Regions from separate parts of the Homo sapiens genome. Here regions 2, 3, 4 and 5 are each linked to region 1. Evidence: promoter capture Hi-C in human tissues and cell types (Jung and others, 2019). All regions are on one chromosome and are shown on one strand. Each heading gives the region's core, a stretch centred on a gene start or on the middle of the fragment in contact. The rest is flanking DNA. Distances are from core to core; before and after follow the strand shown.

The links. The method cuts DNA at HindIII sites, captures the fragments that hold promoters and counts their contacts. A contact is called where the count stands out against the background at its distance.
Region 2: a fragment that was not itself captured here is called in contact with the fragment with the promoter of IDUA in region 1 in 1 of the 25 tissues and cell types used here (dorsolateral prefrontal cortex).
Region 3: a contact is called between a fragment that was not itself captured here and the fragment with the promoter of IDUA in region 1, in 3 of the 25 tissues and cell types used here (dorsolateral prefrontal cortex, lymphoblastoid cells and spleen).
Region 4: a contact is called between a fragment that was not itself captured here and the fragment with the promoter of IDUA in region 1, in 1 of the 25 tissues and cell types used here (spleen).
Region 5: a fragment that was not itself captured here is called in contact with the fragment with the promoter of IDUA in region 1 in 1 of the 25 tissues and cell types used here (dorsolateral prefrontal cortex).

What each region holds. Positions count from the first base shown.
Region 1 is chr4:983,171-989,427 of GRCh38, forward strand. IDUA (alpha-L-iduronidase) reads left to right here and starts at 3,874. Exons shown (of 14, transcript NM_000203.5): 1 at 3,874-4,072; 2 at 4,639-4,779. The coding sequence starts at 3,915. SLC26A1 (solute carrier family 26 member 1) reads right to left here. Exons shown (of 3, transcript NM_022042.4): 3 at 4,487-6,257. The coding sequence ends at 5,663. RefSeq lists enhancers at 2,236-2,285, 3,461-3,520, 6,101-6,257 and silencers at 3,731-4,380, 4,163-4,340. The HindIII fragment of the contact is 27,782 bases long and covers 387-6,257 here.
Region 2 is chr4:1,238,173-1,244,429 of GRCh38, forward strand. It overlaps CTBP1 (C-terminal binding protein 1), which reads right to left. Exons shown (of 10, transcript NM_001012614.2): 2 at 3,153-3,347; 3 at 11-165. The coding sequence starts at 3,159. Among named protein-coding and RNA genes, the nearest start is that of CTBP1, 7.8 kb to the right of the region's middle. RefSeq lists an enhancer at 1,804-2,304. The HindIII fragment of the contact is 7,049 bases long and covers 1-4,775 here.
Region 3 is chr4:778,432-784,688 of GRCh38, forward strand. It overlaps LOC124900163 (chloride intracellular channel protein 6-like), which reads right to left and starts at 3,417. Exons shown (of 2, transcript XM_047416474.1): 1 at 3,341-3,417. PCGF3-AS1 (PCGF3 antisense RNA 1) reads right to left here and starts at 3,418. Exons shown (of 3, transcript NR_171661.1): 1 at 3,341-3,418. RefSeq lists enhancers at 2,533-3,250, 3,251-3,967, 3,968-4,685 and silencers at 3,177-3,256, 3,357-3,706. The HindIII fragment of the contact is 6,790 bases long and covers 453-6,257 here.
Region 4 is chr4:796,957-803,213 of GRCh38, forward strand. The region is part of intron 2 of CPLX1 (complexin 1); the gene reads right to left. LOC105374339 (a long non-coding RNA gene) reads left to right here. Exons shown (of 4, transcript XR_925032.4): 4 at 1-193. Among named protein-coding and RNA genes, the nearest start is that of PCGF3-AS1, 18 kb to the left of the region's middle. RefSeq lists enhancers at 2,280-2,479, 2,515-3,014. The HindIII fragment of the contact is 7,050 bases long and covers 1-5,808 here.
Region 5 is chr4:1,119,459-1,125,715 of GRCh38, forward strand. The region is part of intron 1 of LOC124900647 (nascent polypeptide-associated complex subunit alpha, muscle-specific form-like); the gene reads left to right. All of the region lies in intron 1 of LOC105374344 (a long non-coding RNA gene), which reads left to right. It also overlaps the pseudogene TMED11P. Among named protein-coding and RNA genes, the nearest start is that of RNF212, 9.0 kb to the left of the region's middle. The HindIII fragment of the contact is 4,762 bases long and covers 817-5,578 here.

The sequences.
Region 1 (6,257 bases), core at 2,624-5,123:
CATTAGGTTTATACACAATATACCGTTTCTGTTGCTTTTGTTGGGGTTCAGAAAATGTCACCCAGAGTGAAGGCCTTGGAAGCCAGGCCTTCTCCTGCCTCCTGTCTCTGGCCCCTCATTGTCCCAGGCAGGTCGTAGAAACCTAAGCCCCTTTTCCCCAAAGCCAGCCATAAACCTAAAAGTATGACTCTAATAACTTTTCTCTGTCTTTCTGTGTAAAAACTGGCCATAAAGGAATTCTCTGGCCTGCCTTGTTTGACTGTATGTGGTCAGACCCCTATTCCGGGGCGTTGTGCCCCCACCCAGCAGGAGGGAGAGCTGCAGAGAGAGGCCTCCAGGAACCGAAGCAGATGGGCCTCGCTGGGCTCCCCCAGGAGTCTGTTAGCCTGTCAGGTCTTAACCTTTCGTCCAATCCTATTTCCAGATTCACAGAACCTGAGTATAAAAATGTGGTTTCCCCTGCGCCTTTAGGTCTTTGCTCTGAAAGCTGCTGTGTCACATAAAACTACAATCCAAGAAATCTGTGTACCCTTTTAGTGAAACTTCAGAAAGGCAGGGGAGGTTTTCCCTTCCCCCCGCACTCTTCACTTCTTCCTCTGCACCTCTGAGCTGGGATTTGGGACATCATTCTTTCTACTTGAAGAACACCATTTAATTTTGTCTTTTCTTTTTGAAACAGGGTCTCACTCTGTTGCCCAGGCTGGAGTGCAGTGACGTGATCTTGGTTCACTGCAGCCTCTGCCTCCCAGGTTAAAGCAATTCTCCTGCCTCAGCCTCCTGAGTAGCTGGGATTACAGACGCATGCCACCACGCCCGGCTAATTTTTGTATTTTTGGTAGAGACAGGGTTTCACCATGTTGGCCAGGCTGGTCTCGAACTCCTGACCTCAGGTGATCTGCCCGCCTCAGCCTCCCAAAGTGCTGGGATTACAGGCATGAGCCACCTTGCTCAGCCTAGTTGGATTTAATTTGCTGTTAAACCAATTCGTTATCAGCTTTACTGAGATATGATTTACATACAATAAAATGAAGCAAGTTCAAGTGTATCATTCAATAAATTTTTACTAAGTTTCATGAGGTTTTAATATTTTTTTCAATGTTTTCATTTTGAAAAATTTCAAACTCACAGAAAAGTTGCAATAACAGTATATAGTTTTCACCCAGGTTCACCAACTGTTAATATTTTGCTACCTTTGCTTTTATCTCAGTCTCTGTATGTAATCTAAATTTATTGTTTTGCTTTAATTTCCAGAGCAACTTTGGTTACAAATCTATTGATTCTTCACCTCTAAACCCTTCAGCATGGATCACAAATGAACAAAAAATCTCCATTCACAACCGTGATGCAATCATTGAGTCGTTTAATAATTCTGGAGTTTGACCCAGCGCGGTGGCTCATGCCTATAATCCCAGCACTTTGGGAGGCCGAGACAGGTGGATCATTCGAGGTCAGGAGGTCGAGACCAGCCTGGCCAGGATGGTAAAACGCTGTCTCTACTGAAAATACAAAAATTGGCTGGGCGTGGTGGCTCATGCCTGTAATCCCAGCTACTCAGGAGGCTGAGGCAGAGGTTGCAATGAGCTGAGATCGCACCACTGCACTCCAGCCTGGACAACAGAGTGAGACTTCGTTTAAAAAAACAAAAAACAAAAACAAAAAAAATTCTGGAGTTTATCATTGGTAGAATTTTGTTGCACAATGTACAAGGCATATTCCAAATTGTGAATGTCCCCATCATGCACTTTGTAATAATTTTTCCTGACCCGGATCCATTCCAGCACCGTGCAGTGAGGACTTCTGTCTGTTTTTGTTTTGTTTTACCTTCCTCCAGGGAAGGTGTACTTTTCTGTCCACAGGTGTCCCGGTGAGCGGCTCACCTTAATTCTCTCAGGGCTTGAGGTGATTTAAGGCTGGCTTCAGTCCCCACAAAGACAATTCTGTTGCTGGTTTACCTTTGCTTTTAGGGGATAGAACTTTGGGGTCCCAAGAAAAACCCAAAGTCTTTACCAGGCCCCCCGCCTGAGCCTCGACTTCTGTCCTGTGGCCACAGTGTGAGGAACGAACGCAGCAGCGTGTCGCCATGTCTTGTGTGGCTGGGATACGCTGCAGGGGTGTGGAGTCGCCGCCCCAAAGCGGGCCCCGCCCCCTCCCGGCTTGTCCCTGCAGAGCCCCGAGGCCTCAGAGGCTCCTCAGAGCTCCCAGTGCCCTGGACGGTTCCGTTCAGCGCTCTCCAGTTCTGATGGTTGCTCTCAGGAGGCGGCTGGTCTGAAACAATTCAGTTTCCATTGCTGTGTCCTGCACCACGGTGTGGGACTGGTGGTTTCTTACTGTTTTTCTCAGTTCTCTGACGCTTTGAGGAATTGTTTTTAAAGCGAGTTATCCATCATTTTAGTTGTTTTCTCTGGGGTCGTTGGACTGAGGGTCTTACCCCGCTGTTCCTGGAGACAGTTCTGTACTTGCATGGTTTCTCTCGCCTTTCCCTCCCTTTCTTACTTTTTAGTTTCTTAATGAATTTTTTTGTATTATGTTTTTCCTCCTTGCTAATTTGGAATATATACACACTATTTCACTTTTAAATGGCTAATCACTTTTAATGCAATTTCAACATAAGAAGACCTAATGTTAAGCAATATTTTAACCCCTCTCCCCAAAATAAAAAGACCCAGAACACTGTAACTCTAATTATCCTTCTCCCAACTTAGAGAGGATTATTGTCCAGTATTTTCGTTTTGTTAGTAGACTGTTCTTTTTTTCTTTTCTTTTTTTAGAGATGGGGTCTCATTTTGTCAACCAGGCTGGAATGTAGTGGTGTGATCATGGCCCGTCTCAGCCTTGAACTCCTAAGCTCAAGCAATCTCCCACCTCAATTTCGTGGGTAGCTGGGCCTCACAGGCATATACCATCGCATCTGGCTAAATTTTTTTTTTGTACAGATGGGGTCTTGGTACATCTCCCAGGCCGATTTCAAACTCCAGGCCTCAAGTGATCCTCCCGTGTTGGCCTGCAATTCCAAAGTGCTGGGATTGCAGGTGTGAGCCACCGCACCAAGCCTGTTCTTTCCATTATTATTTTTATACAATGTTTGCTTGGATTCACACATGCATACATGGACTACACATGTACTACAGTTGTCCCATGGTATCCTCGGGGTATTGGTTCCAGGACCCTCCCAGATACCAAAATTTGCAGGTGCTCAAGTACTTGATATAAAATGGCACAGTATTTGCACATTACCTACGCACATCCTACTGTGTAGTTTAAATCAAGATTACTTATAGTCCCTAAAACAATGTAAATGCTCTGTAAATAGCTGTTATACTGTATTGTTTTAAAATATGTATTATTTCGTATTGCTTTGGCTTTAAAACAATATTTTCAGTCTGCTTGGTTGAATCCATGGATCTGAAGCCAAGTGTAAGGAGGGCCCAGTGTGCTCTTCTGGGGTAATTCTCCTTCCTGCTAAAGCGCACGCTTTACTCAGGAGGCTGGGGTGAGAAAATCGCTGAAGCCCCGGAGATGGAGGTTGCAGTGAGCTGAGATCGCGCCACTGCACCTCAGCCTGGGCGACAAAGCAAGACTCTGTCTCAAAAACACACAAAAACAGAGAAAAACAAGACAGTAATGGCTCAACTCACATAGCACCAACGGGCGAAGCGTTCTTCTGAGCGCTTTCCGAGTCATCGGTCCTCAGAGCAGCCCCTGAGGCCCGCAAGGAAGCGGGGCTCCAAGCCCTGCCGTGCTCCCGGCTCCCCGAGGCTCCCCGAGGCCACCCAACCCCTCCCACCCGGCCATCGCCCCCTCACCAAGGCCCCGCCCCGCGGCGGCGGTCACATGGGGTGCGCGCCCAGACTCCGACCCGGAGGCGGAACCGGCAGTGCAGCCCGAAGCCCCGCAGTCCCCGAGCACGCGTGGCCATGCGTCCCCTGCGCCCCCGCGCCGCGCTGCTGGCGCTCCTGGCCTCGCTCCTGGCCGCGCCCCCGGTGGCCCCGGCCGAGGCCCCGCACCTGGTGCATGTGGACGCGGCCCGCGCGCTGTGGCCCCTGCGGCGCTTCTGGAGGAGCACAGGCTTCTGGTGAGCGCTCCGCGGCCTCCGGGACCCCCTGGCCGCACGGGGAGAGCTCGGGCGCCCCCTGACTGCGCACTGTGAGAGCTTCAGAGACCGGAGCTCCCTCCTCTGGGGCCCTGGCTCTCCCGGGCCCGCCCCCCGCCGTGTTTGTGGGTGGGTCCTCCACCTGAGTGGGCGCCGGGGCGTGAGCCTGGGCCGCCCCCTGCAGCCCAGGCCGATGCCCGGGATCCTGCTCTTTGAGGTAAACCAGGAGTCTCCCCTGGGAGTGGACGGCCCTGCAGCGGGACCTGGCCTGCCTGTCCCATTCCTTCCACCTAGAGCTGAGGTACCCGCCTTCCTGGCAGGGCCAGGGCCAGGGCTGGCGTTGGCCCCTCGTCTTACTGCTGCTGCCGTTCCCCATGAAGATGGGACCTCCCCACATTCCTGGCCCTAAGGGTCATTTTATTAGTCACTGAACGCACGGGCAGCGCCTGGATCCTGCGCCCGGGCAGTCCTGGGCTTGAACGTGTGTGTCAGCCGCGCTGCCAGCCATGCTGAGGCTCGGGACTGAGCCGCCCCTTTGTTGTCCCCAGCCCCCCGCTGCCACACAGCCAGGCTGACCAGTACGTCCTCAGCTGGGACCAGCAGCTCAACCTCGCCTATGTGGGCGCCGTCCCTCACCGCGGCATCAAGCAGGTCCGGACCCACTGGCTGCTGGAGCTTGTCACCACCAGGTGGGCGGCGGGCAGGGTCTGGGCGTCCCAGAGCCCCTTACAGAGGCACAGATGGGAGGGGAGGGCTGGGGGCTGCTCGGAAGACCCCTTGTTCCCCCACCTCCCGCCGAAGCACCCTGTTGGGGAGAGCGTGTCCTTGCTGGCTGTGCTGGGGTGAGGGCTGTGTGCTGGAGGGAGCCCCTGCATGGGGCACGGTGGGCTTCCTGCAGGTCTCCCTGCAGGCTCAGGGTTGGCTGCGCCGCACCTGGCTCCTGGTGCACCCGTGAGCATCCCTGTGTGTGTCTGCTGGCCAGGCTGGGTAGGGCCACTGCACCTGAGGGCTGAGCTGAGGTCTCATCGGTCACAGCACCCTGGGCCCTGACGCTGGTGCAGGTGGCCACCCTGTGAGGGGGAGGCACGAGGTGTGAGGGGCACTTGGGTGTGTGGGGCCTTCTGGAAACACAGAGACCCTCGTGCACTTGGCCAGAGCCGCTGGCTCCTACCAGCAGGGTGGGCACCGGGCAGGCCTGGGCATAGGGAGTCCTCTTGGCACCTTGGAGGCTGCATGATGGCGGGGGACCCTTGTTCAAATAAGATGTCAACCCTGAGCGTCAGGTCAGGCCCATCCCTCCTGAGCTGAGGGACGGTGCATTGGGGCCCAGCCAGCACTGTGGGCCAGCCTGTCTCGGAGGCAGAGGTTCTTGATTTCTGAGTGTTTGGGTCCTGCGTGTGATCAGAGGGCCTCCTTTCCCAGTTGGGGTTCCCCGGTTTCCCCAGGGCAGCTGTGGCACAAGAGTGCAGCTCTTGGGTGGCTCCTCCCTGGGAAGGGTCTCAGCAGTGGCTTGCAGACGTCTGCTGTGGGTCCCCAGGAGGGAGCAGAGGCTGCTGGGCAGGCCTGGCCCTGCTACAGATGGGCATCGGTGGCCTCCAGCTCCCTGTGGCGGGCTCGTGCTGTCTGCACGGCATCGTGCACACTGAGGAACAGCTGCTCCTCCTCAGCCGTGTCCCCGGGGCCCTCCCCGAGGAAGCCTCCTCTGCTCAGAATGTCTCTCACAGGCGGGCTGCAGCAGGCTAGCAGCAGGCTGATGCCCAGGGCCCCGTAGTCTCGGCGCAGGTCCTGCAGCGTGCTCACACCGGCTGCGTCTAGGAACAGCAGCGGGGCGCAGTCGATGACCACTGTGTGGAAGCCGGCCGCTGCGGGCACCAGCGCAGCCCTGGTGCTAACCGGGCCCAGGTCCTCGCCCTGGGCAGGGCCTCCCTCACCGACCCCCGTCTCTGAGCCCCCCTCCTTCCTCCTGGCAGCCATGCACCCTGCGTCCAGCCCCGTGAGGCTGTAGAGTGACTGCAGGAAGAAGTCCTTGTTGGCATAGTACAGCGGCCCCCCAAAGCGGAACACCCGCACGCCGGGCTCAGGGACGAGGCCCTCGAACTCTGTGGCATCCTCGTAGAAGGCCGTGTCCCCGATGCGGGCCAGCAGGGCGGTGCGTGGGCGTTGGGTG
Region 2 (6,257 bases), core at 1-2,500, 250 kb after region 1:
GTGGTGGTACCTTCTCATGGATCTCCTGCGTGGACTGCGCGTCGCAGAAGGCCACAGTGGCCACGTCCTTCAGGATGGGCATCTCCACTGTGCAGTCCCGGCCATCCAGCAATGCCACCAGGGGCCGCGGGTGCAGGGGCCCGTTCATGATCGGAGGTCGGACGCCTGCAAGACAGAGGCAAGTGCTCAGCCTTGCACCACTGCGGCCCCGTGGCTACAACCCACTCCACGCCACCCACTGTGCACGGGCCAACGAGGGCCGACCGCCGGGGGTTTTCTGGTCTATATGTTGTGATATTTGTAAAAAGTAAATTAAAAATCCACGTGAAAGACAACTCGTGTGTGCCTCAGCTCGCTGACTCAAGTGGACACAGACTGTGGACACCCACTACCATCTCCCTTGGGCACAGGACCTCCGAGACCCTCCAAGTCCCCTCCGAGACCCTCCAAGGCCCCTCCGAGATCCTCCCAGACCCTCTGAGACCCTCTCACACCCTCCAAGACCCTCCGAGACCCCCCAAGAAATCTCCAGACCCTCTGAGAACCTCCCAGACCCTCTGAGACTCCCCAAGACATTTCCAGACCCACCGAGACACCTCCCGACCCTCCTAGGCCCTCCAAGACCCTCTGAGACCCCCCGAGACCCTCCCAGACCGTCCGAGACCCCAGGGCAGCTCCATGAGGCAGGGGGACAGGAGGGACCCAGGACACTGGAGGACACAAGATGACAGCACGGGACTTTGGGAACATGGTTGTCCCTTTCCTGCCTGGGCTACCGCGTGGCTGCCCGGAATCCCTGATGGGGTCACCAGTGTTTCACGTAGGACGCCCCCAACCCTCTGCCTGGCATTACTTCCAATTATAGATGTGAAGAGAAAAGAAACAGAACAAAGGAAGAAAAGGGTTAAAACCTGTTAAAGTCCACTCTGTGCCCCTGACCTTCCCAGAACCAGATGATTAAAGCTCATTAACACCCATTCCTTTCGCGTATGACGCAACTAAGCCTCATCGGGGCCAACTGGAGAAATAAGGGCTCTGAGGCGTCACAGAAGCATGGCAGCTTCCAGGCACCGCCCGACCGCCCCGTGCCAGGCAGGGAGCACCAGGTGGGGCCACTGTCAGCCCCACGGCAGCTGGGCAGAGGCGGAGCTGGGGCCAGGGCCCAGCCGGTCCCTCCCCTCCTCCTCCAAAGACCGGCCACAGGAGACCAAGCAGTACCCAGGACCGTTCGGCCAGCAGGAGGGGAGGCGCACGACAGAACCAAGGAGCAGAGTGACCCAGCAGGCTCTCCAGTGGCCGCGGCCACAAGCACGCTCGGCCCAGTCTCCCGCCCCATCCGCTGCCCCATCCGCCTGCAGGTGAGCAGAGGCCACCGAGCTGCCAGTATCCAGGAAGCAGGGAAGTGCCTCCTGGAACCCATGGCAGAGAAAAGAAATGCTCTGGTGGACAGCCCAGGGGTGCAGTGGGCCTGCAGCACACGCCTGCAGGGGACGGGGCATGGGTCTCCACTGACCACCCCAAAGCCGAGGGCTCCCAGTACGGCTGGGCCCATGCCCCTCCCGTGAGGTCCTCGCGCCCTGGCGTCCTCGGAGGAGCCACTGGCCATTCCACCCACTTTCCTTCAAGATAGGAAACCAGATCCCAAACGTGAGGTCTGCACGGTCAAAACCGCGTCCTGGTTCGCCTGTTCCTTCATTCCCTCTGGACGGGAGCTGCCCACGAGCACCATAGACAGGCCGCCCAGTGACACTGTACATGGCCTCCCTCTGCACGTGGCCTCCCTCCCCGCTGTGTGTGGTGGTGATGACTTCTCATGAGCAGAAAGGTTTATGTTGCTGTTTCTGAGTGAGTGGATAGACATCCGCTCTCAGTATCCTTGGATTTCACTTCTGATGAGGAAGGCATGGACACACGGGATCACTGCAGACCGCTCGGCTGCGTCAGAACCGCCTGGGGGGACTCCTGGGTGCTGGGTGAGTGGGAACCGGGTCCCTCGTCAGAACCGCGTGGGGGACTCCCGGGTGCTGGGTGAGTGGGAACCGGGTCCCTCGTCGGAACCGTGTGGGGCACTCCCGGGTGCTGGGTGAGTGGGACCGGGTCCCTCGTCGGAACCGCCTGGGGGGACTCCCGGGTGCTGGGTGAGTGGGAACCGGGTCCCTCGTCGGAACCGCGTGGGGGACTCCCGGGTGCTGGGTGAGTGGGAACCGGGTCCCTCGTCGGAACCGCGTGGGGGACTCCCGGGTGCTGGGTGAGTGGGAACCGGGTCCCTCGTCGGAACCGCGTGGGGGACTCCCGGGTGCTGGGTGAGTGGGAACCGGGTCCCTCGTCGGAACCGCGTGGGGGACTCCCGGGTGCTGGGTGAGTGGGAACCGGGTCCCTCGTCGGAACCGCGTGGGGGACTCCCGGGTGCTGGGTGAGTGGGAACCGGGTCCCTCGTCGGAACCGCGTGGGGGACTCCCGGGTGCTGGGTGAGTGGGAACCGGGTCCCTCAGCTGAACGGTGGGGAGGGGGGAGCAGGTGGAGACACCAAGCCCCATCAGGCTCAGGCACCCAAGGTGCCTCCTCACATCACCCATGAGCTGCCCCTGACCACCGTGCCAGGGTTCCCCGGACAGCCCACCCTTGCAGGCTTGGGGACACACCCAGGAGGCTTCACAGTCACACGGCCTGTGCTGAAGCAGGCTTTGCAGCATCCCCCAAGCCCAAGGCTGTTTCCGACTGCACGCACTTCCGGGCCAGAGAGCGCAGACCAACCACAAGGAACAGCTCCACAGGGGCCACGGCCCTGCTCCTGGGCCAGCCGGGTGGACACCTGAGATTTCCAGGGTTCCGTGTGGGGCTCCACCCTCGTGCTGGCGGCCTCCACATGGAGGCCCTCCGTGCCTCTCAGACACTTTCCGACAGAAACAGACAGCAGATGCCACGGACAGGCCTGACCACAGCTGTGCTCTGCCACCAGGTGTGCAGGAAGCCCTCCCTCGAGGGGCACCTGACCTCGCCCAGAGCACACCGGGGGTCAGGTGGCAGCAGTCCGGCCCGACGCCCATGCAGCCCAGGTCCCTCGACTTGATCCGAGGCAGTGCCTCCTCCACACGGTCGCAAAGAGACCGGCCGGCTTCACTCTGCCGCCGACGCCAGGAACCCCTACCAACCTGACATCTCTTAATATGGGCTCAGCTTCCACGACCATGAATTCGACTTTTCAAAGCTTTTTATCTTCAGGATCCCCAGGCAGAACCGCGTCCTGTCTCGGAGCCTCATCCCACGTCCTTAATTGTCTCGAGCCAAAGTGCTCAGGCTTCTGATCCGCGGCAATCACTGAAGCCTGCGTCGGGGTCAAAGTCTTACTAAAAATCAAACACAAGAGACACATTAAAATGCCATCGAAGGTCCGACCAGAACTCACAGACTCCAGGGAACGCCTCAGAAGTGGACCTCACTGCATCTGCCACACCCGGGACTGCTGTCTGGGACCTACCTGGACTCGGGGGCCTGCTGACAGCCAGGGGCCCCGGCTCCTGCCGCACACACGAAGGGCGCTCACCCTGAGGTTGCAGTGCCAGGCCCGAGGCCGCGCCCCTGTGGCCCCGAGGCCTACTCCTGGGAACAGTCCCCCAGGGCTGCGGCCACCCCCACAGGCTCTAGCCGCATCCAGATGTCCCCAGTGTCCAAGAACCAGGGGACGGAGGGCACAGGGTGTGTGCTGTGGGCAGGGAAACTGCGGAAAGGCTCTGCCTCCTGTTCTGGAAGCTTCTATCTCATGTCACTGATTCCCGGGCCTCTGTGACCAGGCAAGGACGTGGAACTTCCCAGGAGCCACCGGGAGAGGTGCTGCTGGCTTTCCAGCATCCAGCCTGGCACTGCCTGCACTGAGCCGCGCCGGCTCCACCTCCGACCCTCAGTGCATCCTGGCGACGCTCCCTCAATTCTCCCAAAAAAACTGCTCAGCTCTTCCTGACCGCTACGGCCAGGGCCTGGCGGGAAGCTGAGGGCACGAACCCCAGTGGCTGAATGCACAGGGGCAGGGGGCCCCTGAGAGGGCCAAGCCTTCCAGTAGAGGCTTGAGAGTGCACACGATCGCCCAGCCCTCGGGAGGGTGTCACTGAGCTGCCCACACCTGGCCCCTGCTCTGGCATGAAGACACAGCACCGAGGCTGACCCCAACGTGCAGCTGACATCAGGCTGACCAGGACAGGAGCCGGCCACCACCAGCCCAGCAGCATGGCAGGCGTGGGCTGAGACGACTGCCTGCCAGGCCAGAAGGGGCCACTCAGCCAAGCCTAAGACCCTGGTAGTGTGCTGTGAGGCCGCCCCTGCGCAGAGGCCTCGCAGACAAATCTCCAACCCTCAACTCCCTCTGCAGGATTCAAGCATACATGCCGACCATCTCCAGCTTCCAGAGACACCATCACAGGGGCTGGGGTGCAGCCCCACGCACGCACCTCCCATCCAGGGTCCCCAACACCACTCCTCATGGCAGGTGCTGTGTGGGACTCCCTGACGGAGGGCCCAAGAGCAACACTGTGGAGCGGGATCCCCATCACCTGCGCCTGAGCCCCCATGACCTGCGCTGCAGCCTCCTGCCCTGAATGCCAGATCTCCCCATGGTACCCGGATACCACATAAAAACAAACTAAAAGGACAGGAGAAAACCGCCTAAATGTCACATTTCACCCACGAGCCAGCCTGGCCAGGGGGCAAGGCACCGCGCCACCCACGCCCAGCCAAACTCATCAATGCCAGCCGATACTCATCAACGCCAGCCGATACTCATCAATGCCAGCCGATACTCATCAACGCCAACCGATACTCATCAATGCCAGCCAATACTCATCAATACTGGCCAAACTCATTGATACGGGCCAATACTCATTGATACCGGCTGATACTCATTGATACCAGTCAATACTCATCAATGCTACCCACGGTGGCCCAGTACCGGCTGCTGCTCGTCAAGACCGGCCAATACTCAATACTGCCCACAGCAGCATGGCACCAGCCGCTGCTCCTGGAGGATCATCGATACCCATCAATGCTGCTCAATGCTTATCTATACTGGCCAGTACGTGCCCACACCTGTGTCTCTGAGGAAGAAGCAGATGTGTGAAGGCCACCCTGGCCCTCCTGAAAGGACCCTGCAGTGAGGAGGCCGTGAGCTCCCGAGCTGAGGAACCTGTGGCAGGGCTCCTGGGGCCCTGCACTCCCTGGGCTAGCCCTGCCAGACCTGAGGGGCTGCACCCCATGCCACAGGGACTTCCTGTGGTTCCTTGTTCCAAGGCTGCTCCAGTTCAGGACAGACACCTGAGGCCCAGCACCTGGTTCTCCTCCAGGGACCTCTGTCTCAGAAACAGCCCTGGGGTAGGTCTGCCCACCATCTGCACCACCCTGGGGCCACTGTGCACCCACAAAGCGCCCCCTGCCGGGCCACACCTGCCCCACTGAGAGCCAGTGTCCGAGTCCTGGAGCCCTCACCTAGGGCAATGCCAGAGGCCCTGCGCACCTCACGCCAGGGAGCTGGCCTCCTACGGCCTTCCTGGCTGGCCGGTCAGGGTCAAGGGCTCCAGCTCTGTACCTTGCCCACACACTCCGAGGTGAAGGCACACGGCTCCCAGAGGGGCCTGTGCTGTCCAAATCCAGGACCCACACTGCTTTTCCTCATCAAAAACTCACAGCCGCACACGGCTCTCAGCCCAGCGACACGAGGACAGTCTCCAGCTTCTCACCCTGCAGACGCTTAACCTCATGTTGTAAGAAAGCACTCAAGGGACCCACGAGGGAAGTGAGTGTAGAGCACATGGAAGCTTGTGCTTCCTATTTTCCTGTAAATCTAAGACTGCTCTAAAACAAAAACTGATTTTAAAGTAAATGGGGGTGAGGTGAGGGGCAGCAGCCCCCAGGTTCTCTGGAGGCATCAAGTCCCGGGGGGCTGCACGGTGGCGGCCCGATGACCCCAGAGCCTCCTGGCCACATGTCAACGCCCTGTCTCTGGATGCACATCACCATCTGCTTGCCGGATCCTCCCTCCTGTTGGCCACGCCTGCCCACTCCGCCCCGATCCACGTGTGTGCTGGGCATCGGTCCATTCTGGTCTGGAGAGGGACCGGGTTGCCCCGGCACACTGGGGGTCACCATGGGCTGGGACCTGCCCCGATCCAGACAGCCACAGTGGGTCTCTGGGCACTGGGGGGGGGGTGTTCCAGGAAGTCCCAGGGGGCACCAAGATGCGCCAGGACCAAGCAGCTACCCCTGTTCCTTCC
Region 3 (6,257 bases), core at 2,598-5,097, 200 kb before region 1:
TCAGTCTTCCAGTCTATGAGCGTGCTGTGTGCCGTCTCTCCACATACATAGTCTTTTTAGCATACAGATCCTGTTTTGTCTTGTTAGATTTATACCTCTCTCTCTCTCTCAGGAGCTACTGTGTTTTTAACTTCAGTTTCCAATGTTTTATTGTCTATAGAAGTAAGATTTTTTTTTTTTTTTTGAGACAGTCTGGCTCTGTTGCCCAGGCTGGAGTGCAGTGACATGATCTCGGCTCACTGCAACGTCTGCCTCACGGGTTCAAATGTGGCATGATCTCAGCTCACTGCAACCTCTGCCTCCCAGGTTCAAGCAATTCTCCTGTCTCAGCCTCCTGAGTAGCTGCGATTACAGGTGTGTGCCACCACACCCGGCTAATTTTTGTATTTTTAGTAGAGACAGGGTTTCACCATGTTGGTCAGGCTGATCTCCAACTCCTGACCTGGTGATACGCCTGCCTCAGCCTCCCAAAGAGCGTTGGGATTACAGGCATGAGCCACCACACCGGGTCTTTTATTTTTTTTGAGACAGAGTTCCACTCTTGTTGCTCAGGCTGGAGTGCAATGGTGCGATCTCGGCTCACTGCAGCCTCTGCTTCCCGGATTCAAGCGATTCTCCTGCCTCAGCCTCCTGAGTAGCTGGGATTACAGTGCCCGCCACCATGCCTGGATAGTTTTCCTATTTTTAGTAGACACAGGGTTTCACCATGTTGGTCAGCTGGTCTCAAACTCCTGACCTTAGGCCATCCACCAGCCTCGGCCTCAGCCTCCCAAAGTGCTGGGATTACAGGCATGAGCCACTGCACGCAGCCCTAAGATTAATTTGTATGTGTTACTGGTGAACATTCCAAACTCACTTACTGGCTCTACGAGGGTCTTTGTGGCAATCATTGCTGTTGCTTTAGATGAGTGTTCTCTATATAGACAATCATGTAGTCTGTGAATAAGGAAGTTTTATCTCACCTGTAATCCCAGCACTTTGGGAGGCTGAAGTGGGAAGATCACCTGAACCCAGGAGTTCAAGACCAGCCTGGGCAACATAGTGAGACCCCCCCGTATCGACTAAAAATACAAAAATTAGTCGGGCTGGTGGCACATGTCTGCAATCCCAGCTACTCTGGAGGCTGAGGCACATGCTCTCTGGAAGGAGGTGCCTGGGTGTGGCTCACCCTCCTCTTTTTCCCTGCTACCTAAAAGGAGGTCCCCAGGTGAAGCTCACTCACAACTCAGAAAGTTCAGGTCACCTCTGTGAGGGCATATCTGCATACACTATTTGGACTCGGCTGGATGTGCATGCCTCTGGTCCCAGCTACTTGGGAGGCTGAGGTGGGACAACTGCCTGAGCCCAGGAGGTCCAGGCTGCAGCAAGGCAACAGCGCACCATTGCACTCCAGCCTTCTGAATGACAGAGGAAGATCCTGCCTCAAAGAACAAATATTTGGACTCCTCCTGCATGGTCAATTGTCTCCTCTCTCCCATCTATTTATTAATTCAGTCTTTTATTTTGGAAATGGGATATTACTAGGCCTTGACTCCTGGGCTCAACTGATGCTCCCACCTCAGCCTCTGAGTAGCTGAACTACAGGTCCCACTCTGCCCAGCTCATTCAGTCACTTATTACATCAGCAAAGACTCATCGATATTTCTTCAGCCCTGTGCATTATAATCCAATGCTACTTTATTCTGCTATTCAAGTTATTCCAGCCTCGCCCATTGGGACCCCTTGTCGCTGTGTCCCTTTGGCCCACAGTTGTGGGTTGTTTTTTTTGTTTTTTTGAGATGGAGTTTCACTCTTGCTGCCCAGGCTGGACTGCAATTGTGTGATCTCAGCTCACATCAACCTCCATCTCTCAGGTTCAAGGGATTCTCCTGCCTCAGCTTCCCCAGTAGCTGGGATTACAGACATGCGCCACCACACCTGGCTAATTTTGTATTTTTAGTAAAGACGGGGTTTCTCCACGTTGGTCAGACTGGTTTCCAACTCGCAAACCTCAAGTGATCCGCCCGCCTCTGCCTCCCAAAGTGCTGGGATTATAGGTGTGAGCCACCGCGCCCAGCCTGTGTTGTTTTTTAAATCATTTCCAGGCTCATGGTGTATACCTTCTGCGCCAGTCCTAGGTGAATTTCTCCTGGTTGGTGAGTTTTCATTGTTTACCTCTGCTCACACAGGGACTCGAGGAGGGAGACTAGGACTCAGAGTCCTCCTTCATCTTGTCACTTCTCTAAACAATTACTTTTTGTTGAAGACGCCATGTAAGCTGGAATTCAAAGCCATCTCTTTGAACAACTGTGTGAAATAATCGTGCTAAACTGTTATTCTCCTTTAATCGTTCCAACCAAGCACCCACGGGGGCCATTATTCCTCTCCTACAACTGCAAGGCAGTGCCTCACCAACTAGCTTTGTTCCTGAGGCAAGCGGCAGGAACCCCTCTGCTTTCCTCAGTGAGCAAGCGGCCCCTGACCCTGGCGAGTGAGTTTTCTCTTCACAGCCCCCTGTCCCTGCTGCCCACTGAGCCAGCCAGCCCGAGGGTGGAAAAGTCATTCTGGCTCTAAGCTTCCAGCACAGTCCGGGAGACCACACGGGTCCTGGGGAGGGTGGCTAAGCCCGAGGGGCTTTATAGGATGAGTCACAAGAAAGTCCATCTGGTGGGCCCTCCCTGACTCCCCTCCACTGTCCCCGGCTCACGGCGAGGAAGGCAAGGCTGGTGGGGGGGACAGGAAAGGGCTGGGGTCTCTCCCCACCTCCACTGCCAACGCCCTGCAGACCCCCAGGCCACAGCCTTTCCCGGGGCTCCCCCAAGGTATGGGAGGTGGGGCGGGTCCAGTTTACGCTGGTTTCAAAGAAGTGAGAGCGCCCCGCCGCCATGTCATGGAGGGTCCCGCGCCCCCACCCCTTGCCTGGGGTCGTGTGTGGGCAGCCGCAGAAAGCGCCCCGACGGCAGGAGCGGGGTTCCAGGCTGAGACCGGGCCTCGGCGGCGCCCCTTCCTGCCGGGAGTGGCGCATCCCAGGACCCACAGACAAACAGGGCCAGCCAGGGTCACCCGGAGCGCGAAGGCCGGCTATGGGCTTAGGGTGGGGTCTGGTCCCTACGGCCGGCCTAGGGGGAACGCGGGACAGGAGAAGGTCTGGGAAAAACCTGCTTCCGAGGCCTCGGCTTCGGGGCGTCCTCCTGAGCTGGCGCCAGCCCGCAGCGGGGCCGGGCAGGGACGCCGGCCTAACGGTGGGGACCGGCAGGGCCTGGGGGCAGGACGAGACAAGCACACAACCGACGGGGCGGGGCCAGGCGAGGGCACGGGGCCGAAGAAGCTTCTGCCAGGCCCGAGACCCGCACTTAGTTACCTGAGAAGGCGGGAAGGTGCGGCCGCGGGGTGAGCGGCGGACTGACCCAGCTCCAGCGCCTCTGCAGAGGCTTGCAATGGCGTCTCTCGGGCTCTGATTGGTCAGGCCTCCACACGTGAGCCTCTAGGAGCCAATCATGTCGGCCCACCTAGCATGCGCTGATTGGCTCAGGCTGGCCAGGGGCGGGCGCGGTCCTTCCACGGCCCGGTCCCCGCTCCCTTCCCCAGGCCCGGAGGCCCCGCCCGAGCGGCTCCGCTGGGGGCGGTTCTGCTGGAGAGGACGGATCTGCTGGGGAGATGGATATCCTGGAGGGGCGGATCTACTCGGGGGGCGGGTCTGCTGGGAAGGCCGGATCTGCTGTGAGGGGCGGGTCTTCTGGAGGGGCCGATCTGCTGAGGGGGCCGGATCTGCTGCCTGACAGGGCTTCCTGGCCTGGGGAGGAGGCCGTGTCTGGAGCTTGAAAGCCGGCCCCGCTGTGTTCAAGATACAGTCAAACGTTCAGAAGGAGGAGACTCCGGGGGCAGGGTGGTGCCCAGCCAGTGCATGGGGCCAGGGCCACGCTGGTGGCACCCAGGCAGCGCTGCCTCCTGGCTCTCGAATGGCTGTTCTCTGCCCAGAATGCTCTCCCACGGGACACGCGCCTCCCTCCGGGTCTGTGCACGTCACTCTGACAGAGAGGCCCCCTGACCACTCATGAAATAGTAACCCTAACCATTGCTCTCTGCTCCCTGTCCTGCTTGATTTTCCTCCAGGGCAAACACCGCCACTTCCATGTTTATCATCTGTCCTCCATCACTAGGAAAACCAGTTCCAGGAGGGAGGGACTAGTATTCCCAGCCCCTAGAACAGAGCAGCGCATATCACAGGGGCTCAGTAAACATCTGGGGAGGAGTGCCATTCCCAGGAGGCCTCAGACCCCGTCACCTGAGATGAGAGCTGGATCCCGGAGAAGCTCAGGTCTGACCCAGCATTCATTGCTGTAGGAAGGGCTCGTCTAGACTCCAAGGGAGCCGGGTGCGGTGGCTCACGCCTGAAATCCCAGCACTTCGGAAGGCCGAGGCGGGCGGATCACCAGGTCAGGAGATCCAGACCATCCTGGCTAACACGGTGAAACCCCGTCTCTACTAAAAATACAAAAAATTAGCCGGGCGTGGTGGCGGGTGCCTGTAGTCCCAGCTACTCGGGAGGCTGAGGCAGGAGAATGGTGTGAACTTGGGAGCGGAGCTTGCAGTGAGCCGAGATCGCACCACTGCACTCCATCCTGGGGGACAGAGAGAGACTCTGTCTCAAAAAAAAAAGACTCCAAGGGAAAGCTGCCTGGGTCGTGACCTGGCACGTCCAAGTCGCTGCTTAGGCTTGCAAGGGGGTCCAGACCAGGCTGTGGATGGGAAATGGGAGGCTGGGGGAGGATGGAGGCTGAGCAGTGGCTGGATGTTGGGGTGCCCTGTTGAGGGGCAGCTGGCAGCAGCCACGGACACAGGGGTGGGTGCAAAGACACTGAGTTTCTGTTCCAGGAGGAAGGGGGGCCAGCTGGCAGAGGAGAGATCACCCTGGGCAATTTGGTGGTGCCTGGGGTGCACACTTCCCCAGAGGCAGCAGGAGGAGGAGCTGGATACACCCTTCCCTGGGCTTGGAGGAGAGCACGTTCCCTCCCAGCTCCCACCTGGCATCCAGGAGGGCCCGGCCTGGGGTCAGGGCACATGGGGCCCTCCTGCCCTGGGACTGGGCAGCTCCCTGGGGCATTCCCAGCCAGCAGCATCAGGAAGGTTACAGGAGACCCAGACATGCTGCTCCCTAGAGAGGGCTCCTGACAAAGATTTTTTGTGTGGTCAAACTTTAGTTAACTTCCTGAATCTTCTGGTAGGCCCATTGGCCCACTTCCTTGTAAAATGCAGTTTTAGCAAAGAATCTGGCTAAGTCAGTTTAGCAACAAACCTTCATCCTGGAGATCTGATTGGGGTCCTCATGCTTCACCACCCTATGGGTCTGTCTGATTGCCCTGCCTGTCTCCAGCTAGAATCCAGTTAGATGGGTTTCATCAGAATCCCCCAACCCCTGATGTTCCTCAGTCATTTTCCATCCACTGAGCCCACCCTGCTCCTTGGCACCCATGGCAAGCCCTGTTGCATGGTCCCTGTACCTGTAGTGCTGGTCCTGAATAAAGCCTTCCTCACTCAGCTGTAACAAGTGTCACGGGACCATCTTTTCTTTTCTTTTTTCTTTTTTTTTTTTTGAGAGGGAGTCTCGCTCTGTCGCCCAGGCTGGAGTGCAGTGGTGTCATCTCGGCTCACTGCAACCTCTGACTCCCAGGTTCAAGGCGATTCTCCTGCCTCAGCCTCCCGAGTAGCTAGGACTACAGTTGCTTGCCACCTCACCCAGCTTTTTTTTTTTTTTTTTTGTAGTTTTAGTATTAATGGGGTTTCACCTTGTTAGCCAGAATAGTCTCCATCTCCTGACCTCGTGATCCGCTCACCTCGTCCTCCCAAAGTGCTGGGATGACAGGCGTGAGCCACCGCGCCCGGCCTGAACCACCGCACCTGGCCTGAACCACCGCACCTGGCCAGAATCATCTTTTAACAGCTTCCAAACTTGGAGGTCAAACAAGGACTTTCTGGGGAAGCAAGTGGCAGGCAGCAGCTAGGCGTGGGCTGCGCATCCAGCGGATTGAGTGTGGGCGGGACCGCCAGCAACCAGGCAGAGGGGCTGTTCTCTGGGTTGGGGTCAGGAACCTCTTCTGGCCTCAGCCCAGGTTGGCAGACATTTCCCTGCAGGGATCCGGGTCCAGGACTCAGGAGGAGGGACAGTCCCACGGGGGTGCTGGGGGGCAGGAATTCCTGGGTGGGCCGAGGTAAGGGCAGCACAGGGTGACCTGGGGCCCTGGGCCCGGTGGAGCTGAGGAGAGGGACAGGCCTGTGGT
Region 4 (6,257 bases), core at 1,034-3,533, 190 kb before region 1:
GACACAGGACCCCCACGTGGGACCAGAGACAGAGGTGGAGGCTCAGGACCCTGGAGAAAGAATGCAGTATCCCCAGATGGGACAGGATACTTAATGGGAAAGAATAAAACTGGACCCCTGCACAACACACAGACACATTCTTATTGATTGTAGAACTAAACATGAATCCCAAATAAATGTAGGCAAAGAAAAACACAGTCCTTGCCACTCTCTGGCCCGTCACCAGCTGTATTTCCCTTTGTAGTTGTCCATTACCTGAAATGGTGCCATCTGTTGTTTGTTTGCTTCTGATTGCCAGTCTGCTAACAGAAAGCCCCATGGGAGCAGGCAGTCAGCTCGGAGCTGCAGCCCTGGCACCTAGAGCAGAGCCTGCCACACAGCAGGTGCTCAGCAAATAGTCTAGCTCTGTCGCCCAAGCTAGAGTGCAGTGGCAGGATCTCAGCTCACTGCAACCTCCACCTCACGGGTTCAAGTTATTCTCCTGCCTCAGCCTCCCAAGTAGCCAGGATTACAGGCGTCTGCCACCATGCCTAACTAATATTTGTATTTTTAATAGAGACGGGGTTTCACCGTGTTGGTCAGGCTGTTCTCGAACTCTTGACCTCCTGATCCACCCGCCTCGGCCTCCCAAAGTGCTGGGATTACAAGCGTGAGCCACTGAGCCTGGCCACAACCTGACTTTAAGACTTACTGTAGGCCGGGCGCGGTGGCTCACGCCTGTAATCCCAGCACTTTGGGAGGCCAAGACCGGCGGATCACGAGGTCAGGAGATCGAGACCATCCTGGCTAACACAATGAGACCCCGTCTCTACTAAAAATACAAAAAAGTAGCCGGGCATGGTGGCGGGCGCCTGTAGTCCCAGCTACTCGGGAGGCTGAGGCAGAATGGTGTGAACCCGGGAGGCGGAGCTTGCAGTGAGCCAAGATCGCGCCACTGGACTCCAGCCTGGGCAACAGAGCGAGACTCCGTCTCAAAAAAACAAAAAGACTTACTATAATCAAGGCACTATGGTATAAACAAAAGAACAGACATATAGGCCAGGCACAGTGGCTCACGCCTGTAATTCCAGTACTTTGGGAGGCCGAGGTGGGTGGATCACCTGAGCTCAGGAGTTCAAGACAAGCCTGATGGACATGGTGAAACCCCGTTTCTACTAAAAATGCAAAAATTAGCTGGGTGTGGTGGCGTGTGCCTGTAATCCCAGCTACTTGAGAGGCTGAGTCAGGAGAATCACTTGAACCCAAGAGGTGGAGGTTGCAGTGAGCCGAGATGGCACCACTGAACTCCAGCCTGGGTGACAGTGAGACTCCGTCTCAAAAAAAAAAAAAAAAAAAAGAACAGACATCTAGATCAATGGAAAGTATAGAAAGTCCAGAAATAGACCCATACATATATTGTCAATCGATTTTTGACAGAGCTGCAGAGGGAATTCAATGAGGGTGAGGATAGTCCTTACTTCTGTTTTCTTTTCTTAGACAGGGTCTTGCTCCGTTGCCCAGGCTGCAATGCAGAGGCTCAATCATAGCTCACTGCAGTCTCAACTTCCTGGGCTCAACTGATCCTCCCACCTCAGCCTCCCATGTGCCACCATGCCCAGCTAATTTTTTAAAAACATTTTTTGTAGAGACAAGGTCTCACTATGTTGCCCAGGTTGGTCTCGAACTCCTGGGCTCAAGTGATTTGCCTGCCTCAGCCTCCCGAAGTGCTGGGATTGCAGGCGTGAGCCACTGTGCCCGGCCAGATAGTGCTTTCAGAAGCGCACTGGCTCAATTCAATATCCATGTGCAAAATAAACACATATGTAAATGTTTTCCTTTACCTGACACTTTATATAAAAATGAACTCACAATCAATCATAGATCTAAATGTCAAAGCTGAAATTATACAACTTCTAGAAGAAAACAGAAGAGAAAATTTCTGGGACTTTGGCTTAAGCAAAGATTTCTTATATAAGTGACAAAAGCATAAATCTTAAAAAGAAAAATTGATAAACTGAATTTCATCAACATTAAACATTTTTGCTCTTCTGCGATATTATGAGATATATATATATGTTTTCATCTATGGCTCCTGCCTCTCACTCCCATGGCCCTTGTTATAATGTTGGGGCCCTTTAGAATCAGGAAACAGAACCCCTCTCTCTGACCTTCTGCCCTCTTTTCACCTGTGCAGGGCAGGACTCAAATCTTCCCCTGACTTCCTGTTGGTGAGTCATAAGCCCTCATTTCAGAAGGGGCCCTGCCCCGTGCCCTGGAGGAAGGAACGCTACAGAGAGAGGCCAAGAGGAATCTGGACAGGCCTTGCTGGGTTTAGATCACACCCTTTTCATCGGTCGCATTTCTACGGGGACGTCCATGCTTCTTCCACCATGCCTATCCGATGGAGTCTCCTCAAGAGGCGGGGTTCAGGAGCTTCCAGAGAGCTGGGCACATGGAGGCTGGAAGGAAGGCGAAGAACTCATCCACGTGCCAGGAGGGTAGCACCCCAGCTCCACGGGGTGGAAGCTCCTCAGAAGGGTGGCACCCCAACTCCACAGGGTGGAAGCTCCTATCCTTGGGACCCTTCAGGCCTGGCCATGTGTCTCTTCATCTGGCTATGTGTATCCTTGAAAATATCCTCTGTAGGCTGGGCATGGTGGCTCACACCTGTAATCCCAGCACTTTGGGAGGCCGAGATGGGCGGATCACCTGAGGTCTGGAGTTCGAGACCAGCCCAGTCAACATGGTGAAACCCCGTCTCTACTAAAAATACAAAAATTATCCAGGCATGGTGGCATGTGCCTGTAATCCCAGCTACTCAGTAGGCTGAGGCACAAGAATTGCTTGAACCCAGGAGGCAGAGGTTGCAGTGAGCCGAGATTGCACCATTGTACTTTAGCCTGAGCGACAGAGGCAGGCTCCGTCTCAAAAAATAAAAAATAAAAAGATCCTCTGTAATAAACCATAGGCATATGTTTCCCTGAATTCTGTGAGTTGCTCTAGGAATTAAACCCAAGAGGGGTCGCATGAACCCCAACTCGAAGCCGGTCGTTCAGACATTCTAGGGTCCTGGACTTGCGACTGGTGGGATGGAGGGGGCAGCCTTGTGGGACTGAGCCCTCAACGTGGGGTTTCTGAGGCTGTCTCCAGGTAGACAGCATCAGAATGGAATTGAATTGGAGAACACCCTGCTGTTGTCCACTGCCGGACTGACTGCTTGCTTGGTGGGTGGGGAAAACCTTCATACATTTGGTCACAGACATCTTCTGTGTTGATTATCCTTGTGGAGTGAGGGCAAAGGGAAAAACAGTTTGAGTTTTTCTTAACATCTTCAAAAGACACTGTCTTAAAAAATGAAAAGGTACACCACAGGCTGAGAGAATATATTTGCAAACCACACATCTGATAAAGATCTTAGGCCGGGCGCAGTGGCTCACGCCTGTAATCCCAGCACTTTGGGAGGCCAAGGCGGGCAGATGAATTGAGGTCAGGAGTTCGAGACCAGCCTGGGCAAAATGGGGAAATCCCATCTCTACTAAAAAATATATATATATATACACACACATATACACACACAGACACATATATGTGTATATACATACACACACATGTATGTATATATAAATATATGTGTGTGTGTGTGTATATATATGTATATATATATATATTAGCCAGACATGGTGACGGGCAACCGTAATCCCAGCACTTTGGGAGGCCAAGGCGGGCAGATGACTTGAGGTCAGGAGTTCGAGACCAGCCTGGGCAAAATGGGGAAACCCCGTCTCTACTAAAAAAAAAAATATATATATATATATATATACACACACATATACACACACAGACACATATATGTGTATATACATACACACACGTATGTATATATAAATATATGTGTGTGTGTGTGTATATATATGTATATATATATATATATATTAGCCAGACATGGTGACGGGCACCCGTAATCCCAGCTACTTGAGAGGCTGAGGCAGGAGAATTATTTGAACCCTGGAGGTGGAGGTTGCAGTGAGCCAAGATCGTGCCACTGCACTCTAGCCTGGGCGACAAGGCAAGACTCTGTCTCAAAAAAACAAAAGGTTGGCCGGACGCAGTGGCTCACACCTGTAATCCCAGCACTTTGGGAAGTCGAGGCGGGCAGATCACGAGGTCAGGAGATTGAGAATAGCCTGGCTAACATGGTGAAACCCCATCTCTACTAAAAAAAAAAAAAATGCAAAAATTAGGCAGGCGTGGTGGCACGTGCCTGCAGTCCCAGCTACTAGGGAGGCTGAGGCAGGAGAATTGCTTGAACCTGGGAGGTGGAGGTTGCAGTGAGCCGAGATCGGGCCACTGCACTCCAGTCTGGGTGACAGAGCGAGACTCTGTCTCAAAAGAAAAAAAAAAGTCTTATATTCAGAATACACAAAAAACTCTTACAACTCAATAACAGGAACACAAACAACCTGATTTTTAAAGTGGACAAAAGACATTTCACCAAAGAAGAGAAACAGATGGCAACTAAGTATAGTCATGGACCATGTAAAGCAACATGATGTCGCAGCCATTGTAAGGTGTACCACGTGGTACCTTTTCTATGTTTAGATGTGCTTAGGTACGCAAATACTCACCACTGTGTTACAACTTCCGTGCCATTCAGGCAGTCACGTGCTGTGCAGGGTTGTGCCCGGGAGCACCAGGCTACCCCCAACAGCCTGGGCGTGCAGGGTTGCTCCATCTGGGTGTGCAACAGTGCACTCTTTGATGTTCGCACAGCAACAAAGTCACCTAATGACACAGTCCTCAGAACTTGTCCCTTTCGTTACATGATGCATGACTGCACGAAAAGACACACGTGGCTGTTACAAATAAAGTTGATCGACGTGTCAGTCATAAGGGAATTCAAACTTAAATCACACAGAGATACCACCACATTCCTACTCAAATGTCTGAAATTAAAAAGACTGACTGTGCTAAGTGTTGGCAAGGAACACTGGTGGAGGAACTGGAACACTCATGCATACTTGTGGGAAGGTAAATGCTACAACCACTTTGCCAACAGTTGAGCATTTTCCTGTACAACTGAACATGCCACCAAATGACCCAGAAATTCCACTCCTAGGTGTTTACCCAAGAGAAACAAACACTTAAGTTCACACAATGGCAGGAACAGGAATGTTCATGGTAGTTTCATTTGTAACAGCCAAAACCAGAAAGCAACTCAAATGTCCATCAACAGGTGAATAGACAAACTGTGGTATGTCCACACAGGTAGCATCACTTAGCAACAGAGACAGATGAATTGCTGATACACCAAACAACACGGGAGAATCTCAAAGTCTTTATGCTGAGTGTAAAAGGCCAGATACAAATTATTTAATTTCATGTATGTACATTTGGGTGCAAACTAATCTACAGTGACAGAAAGAAAATGTAGATTGCCTGGGGCCAGGCAGACTTAACCACGGTGATGGTGAAACTCATTGGAGTGTACCCTTAAGAGGGCAATGGTTATTGAAAATAAATTGCACCACTATCAAATTGATCAGAAGCCCTAACAAATTAAAAGCTAGAGATATTACAGGCCATTTTCCCTGATCATAATCTAATCAAGTTACAAATACTAAAAACATGACCAAATCACTAAGTATGGAAGCCCAAATATTAGAAACAAGGACGTAAGTAACCCTTCAACTGAAGAGGAAATAAAAACTGAAAGTGTAAAAATTCCAGAAAGCAGCTGGGCGTGGTGGCTCACACCTGTAATCCCAGCACTTTGGGAGGCCAAGGTGGGAGGATCAAAAGGTCAGGAGTTTGAGACCAGCCTGGCCAACATCGTGAAACCCCATCTCTACTAAAAAAGATACAAAAATTAGCTGGGCTTGATGGCACATGTCTGTAATTCCAGCTACTCAGGAGGCTGAGGCAGGAGAATTGCTTGAACTCGGGAGGCAGATGTTGCGGTGAGCCGAGACTGCGCCACTGTACTCCAGCCTGAGCATTAGAGTGAGACTCTGTCTCAAAAAAAAAAAAAAAAAATTCCAGAAAGCATGAAAGATAAACACTAGGCGTCTGAACTTAGGGTCCAGGGCTAAAACTTTTTTTGGGAGGAAATTCATAGTCCTTCATTTTAAGGAAGAGCAGAAAGTATAGGAACTTCATTGCCATCTTAAGAAATTTAAAAGAAACAAAACAAAATAATCCCAAATAAGACAGGAAGAGATAATTAATGAAGAGAAAAGCAGAAAATGGACAATGGTAAACAGTAAATCTGCCTGCAGTAA
Region 5 (6,257 bases), core at 1,948-4,447, 140 kb after region 1:
TAAGGACATCGTTGAACTCAGTGGCACCATCAGTTGACTGGAGATAATTGACACCTATGATTACTTTATCCAGTGATAGCAGAGGACACGTTTTTCTCAAGTTCACATGGAACATTCGTCAAGATAGACCACATTCTGGGCCATATATCACACCTTAAAGAATTTAAAATAATAGAAATCATACACTGTATGTTTTCAGGCCTCAATGGAATTAAACTGGAAATCAGTAACAGAGAGATAGCTGGAAAATCGCAAAATACTTGGAGATTAAACAACACACTTCTAATTAACACATGGGTCAAAGAAGAAATCTCAAGACAAAATGAAACTACAACTTACCAAAATTTGTGGGATGCAATAAAAGCAGTGACTAGAGGGAAATTGAAAGCATTGAATCCATATACAGTTGGCTGTCTATAATGCCAGGTTTCACATCCATGGATTAAACCAGCCATGGATTGAAAATATTTGAAAAAAATATATGTGACAGAAATAATACAAGTGAAAAACTACAGCATAACAACGATGCAGCATTTACATTGTATTAGATATAAGTAATCTAGAGGTGATTTAAATTAATGGGAGGATGTGTACTAGTTACCTGCAAACTACACCATTTCATATAAGGGACTTGAGCATCTTCAGAATTTTGTATCTTTGGAGAGTCTTGGAACCAATGCCCCACAAATACCAAGGGATGACTGTATTAAAAAACGAGATCTAAAATTAATAATCTAAGCTTCCACCTTAGGAAACGAGAAAAAGAAGAGAAAATTAAATGCAAAGTAAGCAGCAGAAGAAAAATAATAAAAACTATAGCAGAAATCAATTAAAAACAAGAAATAGAAAAAAATCAACAAAACCAAAAGCTGATTCTTAGAAAAGATTTAAAAGCTTCTAGCCAGGCTAAGAAAAAAATGAAGATGACACAAACTACAAATATTAGAAACAGAAGAAGGGGCATTACAAATCCCATGGACATTAAAAGAATAATAAAGGAATACTGTGAACAAGTCCATGCCCACAAATTTGATAACCTAGGTGAAACTGACCAATTCCTTGAAATACGCAATCTAATAAAATACAAGAAGTAGGCAGTCTGAATAGGCCTATATCTAGTAAGAGGTTGAATCAATAGAAACTTTCCAAAGCAGAAAGCACCAGGCCCAGATGGGTTCACTGGTGAATTCTAACAAACATTTAAGGAAGAAATTGTGCCAGTTCTCTACAATCTCTTCCAGAAGATAGACACAGAAGGAATACTTCCTGATTCATTTTATGAGGCCAGCATTACCCTAATACCAAAACCAGACAAAGACATTATAAGAAAACTACTGATCATTATATCTCATGAAGATAGATGCAAAAACCCTTAACAAAATATTAGCAAATGAAAATCCAACAATATGTAAAAAGAATTATATACCACAACCAAATGGGTCTTATTACAGATATGCAAGACTGGTTTAACATCAGAAATCAATTAGTGTAATTCATCACATCAATAGGTGAAAGAAGGAAAAATCATACCATCATATCAATAGATGCAGAAAAAACATTTAACAACAGCCAACACCCATTTATGATAAAAATGCATCAAACTAGGAATACAGGGGAACTTAATTTGATGAAGAACATCTACAAAAAACCTATAGCTAATACACTTACTGGTCAGAAACTAGAAACCTTTTCTTGGTGGACTGGAAGTCCTAGCTAATGCAGTAGAAGGAAATAAAGAGTTTGGGAAGGAAGAAATAAGCTGTCTTTGTTCACAGGTGACATGACTGTTTATGTATAAACCCAAAAGAATTGACAAACTGCCAGAACTAGTAAGTGATTATAGTAAGGTTGCAGGATACAAGATGAATATAAGAAAGTGAATCACTTTCCTATATACTAACAATGAACAAGTGGAATGTGAAATAAAAAGCACAGTATCATTTACATTAGCACGCTCCCTCAAATTACTTATTTATAAACCTAACAATATGTGCAAGACCTATATGAGGAAAACAAAACTGGTGAAAGAAATGGAGAGAAGTCCATGTTCATAGATAAGAAGACTTATTATTGTCAAAATCTCAGTTCTTCCCAACTTGTTCTATAGATTCAACAGAATCCCAATACAATTCTAGCAAACTATTTTGTGAATATTGACAAGCTGATTCTAATATTTATATGGAGAAACAGAAGACCCACAATAGCCAACACAATATTGAGGGAGAAGAATAAAAGAGGACTGAGACTAACCAACCTTAAGATTTACTGTGAAGCTACAGTAATCAAGACAGTGTGATATTGGTGAAAGAATAGACAAATAGATCAATGGAACAGAATAGAGAGTTCAGATGTTGTTTCAGGCAATTTCGATTTTCAAAGAATGAGTCTTCTATGTGTTTTAAAAAAAACAGTGAATGGGTTTTAATGTGATAGTTTTTGGCCCAACTAAAATTTGGCTCTGGGTTTAATGTGCTTTGGAGACATTTTCAGATGGTCATTAAGGATTATTGGGAAAGTATAGAATTGGGGTTTGATATAACAAGGAACAGAAAGTATGGGCTAGAAGCATAGATGTGGGTGTGTAGGGAGGAGAGGGTAGCTGTCTTGACAAGTGGCTGGAGCTAGGAAAACAGTCCCAGTGGAATTATTGTCAGTGAGGTGCCAAATGTGCCGAGAGATAACTATTGAACAGGTGAAAATCAAGTGTCCAAAAATCCAACTGGATTGGAGTCTTCAGCACAGCTCTCTGTCTCCACATAAGTGGGGGTGTCACAGTGTCTTCCTGAGCTTGGGCCAACCAGTTATCCAGTTTCATGAGAATGGGAGTCCTGTCCTGCCTACTTCAAGCACCCTTTTCTTGCCAGCCAGAAAGAGGCCTATTCTATTCTACAAGTCTTTGGTCCACCACCATTCTGCTACCCCATGAGCACAGCTCCAGGACTAGATTTGAGTTAGTGGGCTGAGAAATTCATTGTCTTGAGCTTACATGGTGGGGGATGGATATCTCTGTTATATCCATTGTATATATGAGAAAACAGCATCAAAGCAGTCAAATAACCCGTCCAAGGTTTTAGCTTATATGTGACAATCCATGCTTGAGTTTGATTCTGACTCCAAAATCCATATTCTTTCCACATTTCCTGGTGACTTTTGTACTCCTCTGCTAACTCCTGGTGAGTAAGAGGTATGTAAGACCAGACAGTCCCAGAGGCTGCTGCATTATTAGAGAACGCCTATGCCAAAATGGGAGGAGGGAGGAGTTGGCTTATCTGACCCTTGTGCTTGGGTGGGGCTGCAGCACCAGCAAAGTAGATGGGGCCTGGTTGGTGTAAAACCACAGGATGCTTTGGCCTTAAGGTCCCTTTTGCCTAGCAAGATCGGCAAACCTGAAGATGACAAATCTGGGAATCCTCATTTCATTTTTTAAAAGCTTTTTGTATTATGAAGCCTGTCTCTGCTTCTCAACTAAACTATAGGCTCATTGAGGGCAGGCACTTTCTATGTTTTTATGTCATGCTATCATTCAGTGCTATATGCATTAAAAATTGTTAATTCTGGTTAGTGAGTGCTTCTGTAGAGATTTTAAAACTGGGCTACATGATGCCTGAATTTCTGGCAAATGAAAAATTTTAGTAACAAAGTATAAAAGAATGTTTTACCTCATCATTGTAAGTTGTAATAGTCACAAACATTCCCAAACCAGGAGCAGATTCAAGGAACGTATGTCTGCCTATGTCCCATTGCTGTATCTTGAAAGTCCCTGTTTCAAAAATGTAAGACATTACAACATGTAAGAAACAGTAATAATGTTTATTAGATGTTACTGTTAAATTAAATGAATTTATCTTTCTCAGTTTACCTAAATCGTAAAACACTCTTAGTCTGAACAGCTATAGCTTGGTGATTAGGTATCTAACAGAGTAGAGGACTCTGGAGTATAGAGGAAGACTTGAGTTCTTCATTTCTCACTCTCGTTTACTAGGTAACTTGACAAATTATTTCACCACTCCAAGCCTCCATTTCCTATTCAGAAAAATAGGGGTAATATAGATCCCTCTCAGATCTCAGTTGTGAGAACTGCCGAAAATAAGCCTATGAAAGGTTTCCACCTAGAATGTAAACTCCATGTGAGCTGCCACTAAGAGATGGAACTCTTGGACCTTTTCCGAAACCTCCCCAGTAGTTCTCCCTGCTTTAACTTCTTTCTCCTGTAACTTGATCCCATACACTTCCAGCAGAATTCCTTGCTAAAATATCAGTGTAGTCATGTCAAATCTTTCGTTTCATTGTCTCCAGAGGTTTCTGCTGAAGGTTGGATCTGAAGGAGTCTCTGGCTATCTCCCATTAGTATGTGTTAGCTATCATATGACTTAACTTCCCTCATGTGCCCTTGAAAGGTACAGTGGGAATGAAAACCAGGTAACATTTGTTGGACCCATATTATGCGCCAGGCACTGTGCTAAACACTTAACATGCATCACTCTTGTATAGATTTATGTAACTATAATATGTGCTTATAAAGTACAAATATTATAAAATTTTATAAAAGTGGGAGAAAAGGCACTACACTGTCTGGGTTTGAATCCTGACTCTACTGCTTGCTAGCTATGTGGGCAAATTAATTTTTCTATACTTTAGTTTCATTATATCTAAAATCGTTATAAAAGTAGTATTTACCAGCTGAGCACGGCGGCTCATGCCTGTAATCCCAGCACTTGGGGAGGCTGAGGCAGGCAGATCACTTGAGGCCAGGAGTTTGAGACCAGCTTGGCCAACATCGCGAAACCTCATCTCTACTAAATATACAAAAACTAGCCGGGCGTGGTGGCGCATGCCTGTAATCTCAGCTACTCAGGAGGCTGAGGCATGAGAACCGCTTGAAGTGGGAGGCAGAGGCTGCAGTGAGCTAAGATCGTGCCACTGCACTCCAGCCTGGGTGACAGAGGAAGACTCTGTCTCAAAAAGAAAAAAAAAGTAGTATTTACCTATGTAGGGTTATTGTCATGAAGAGTCAGATGTTTGTAAATTGCTCCATTAGAATGGTGCTTGACATAGCACTGAATAAATGTGTTATATGTAAATATATATAGATAACACGTATAAATTATACATATATACAGTTGTGCCTCAGTATCCATGAGGGATTGGTTCCAGGATGTCCTCAGGACACCAAAATCCACAGATGCGCAAGTTCCTTATACTAAATGGCATAGTATTTGCATATAACCTATGCACATCCTCCCATATACTTTAAATAATCACTAGATTACTTATAATGCCTAGTACTTAAATGCTGTGTAAATAGTTGTTATACTGTATTGGGTTTTTATTTGTATTTTTATTTTTGTATTGTTATTTCTTATTATTTTTTCCCAAATATTTTCCATTTGCATTTGGCTGAATCTGCCAATGCAGAATTTGTGGATATGGAGGGCCCGCTGTATACACTCACACACTTTTTAGTAACCGAGGTGATTTTTCCCTTACTACCACATTATGTTATCTCCATCTGGAGAAAGGAAATTCCGTGCAGGGACATATGCAAAAGTCCTGAGGGCAGGAGGATGCTTGGAATATTCAAGGAGCAGCAGAATGGCTGGAGTGAGGTTAGCAGGGAAAGAATGGTAGGAGGTGGGGTTGAAAAGATAGCAGGGGCCAGATCATAGAGAGTCCCGATGTCCATTGTAAGGATTTGGGGAAGCAATTGGGTAGAGAAGTGACATGATGTGACTTTCCTTTTAAGTTTCTTATTGTTTCTGTTATGTGGAGAAAAGGATGAAGAAGGGTCAAGGGTGGAAGCAGTGACACTATTGTAATCTAAGTGGCTTAGACTATGTGATTATAGTAGAGGTTGTAAAAAGTTGTTGGTTTCTGTACTATTGTATTTTTTTAATTTTATTATTATACTTTAAGTTTTAGGGTACATGTGCACAACGTGCAGGTTTGTTACATATGTATACATGTGCCATGTTGGTGTGCTGCACCCATTAATTCGTCATTTAGCATTAGGTATATCTCCTAATGCTATCCCTCCCCCCTCCCCCCACACCACAACAGTCCCTGGTGTGTGATGTTCCCCTTCCTGTGTCCATGTGTTCTCATTGTTCAATTCCCACCTATGAGTGAGAATATGCGGTGTTTGGTTTTTTTTCCTTGCGATAGTTTGCTGAGAATGATGGTTTCCAGTTTCATCCATGTCCCTACAAAGGACATGAACTCATCCTTTTTTATGGCTGCATAGTATTCCATGGTGTATA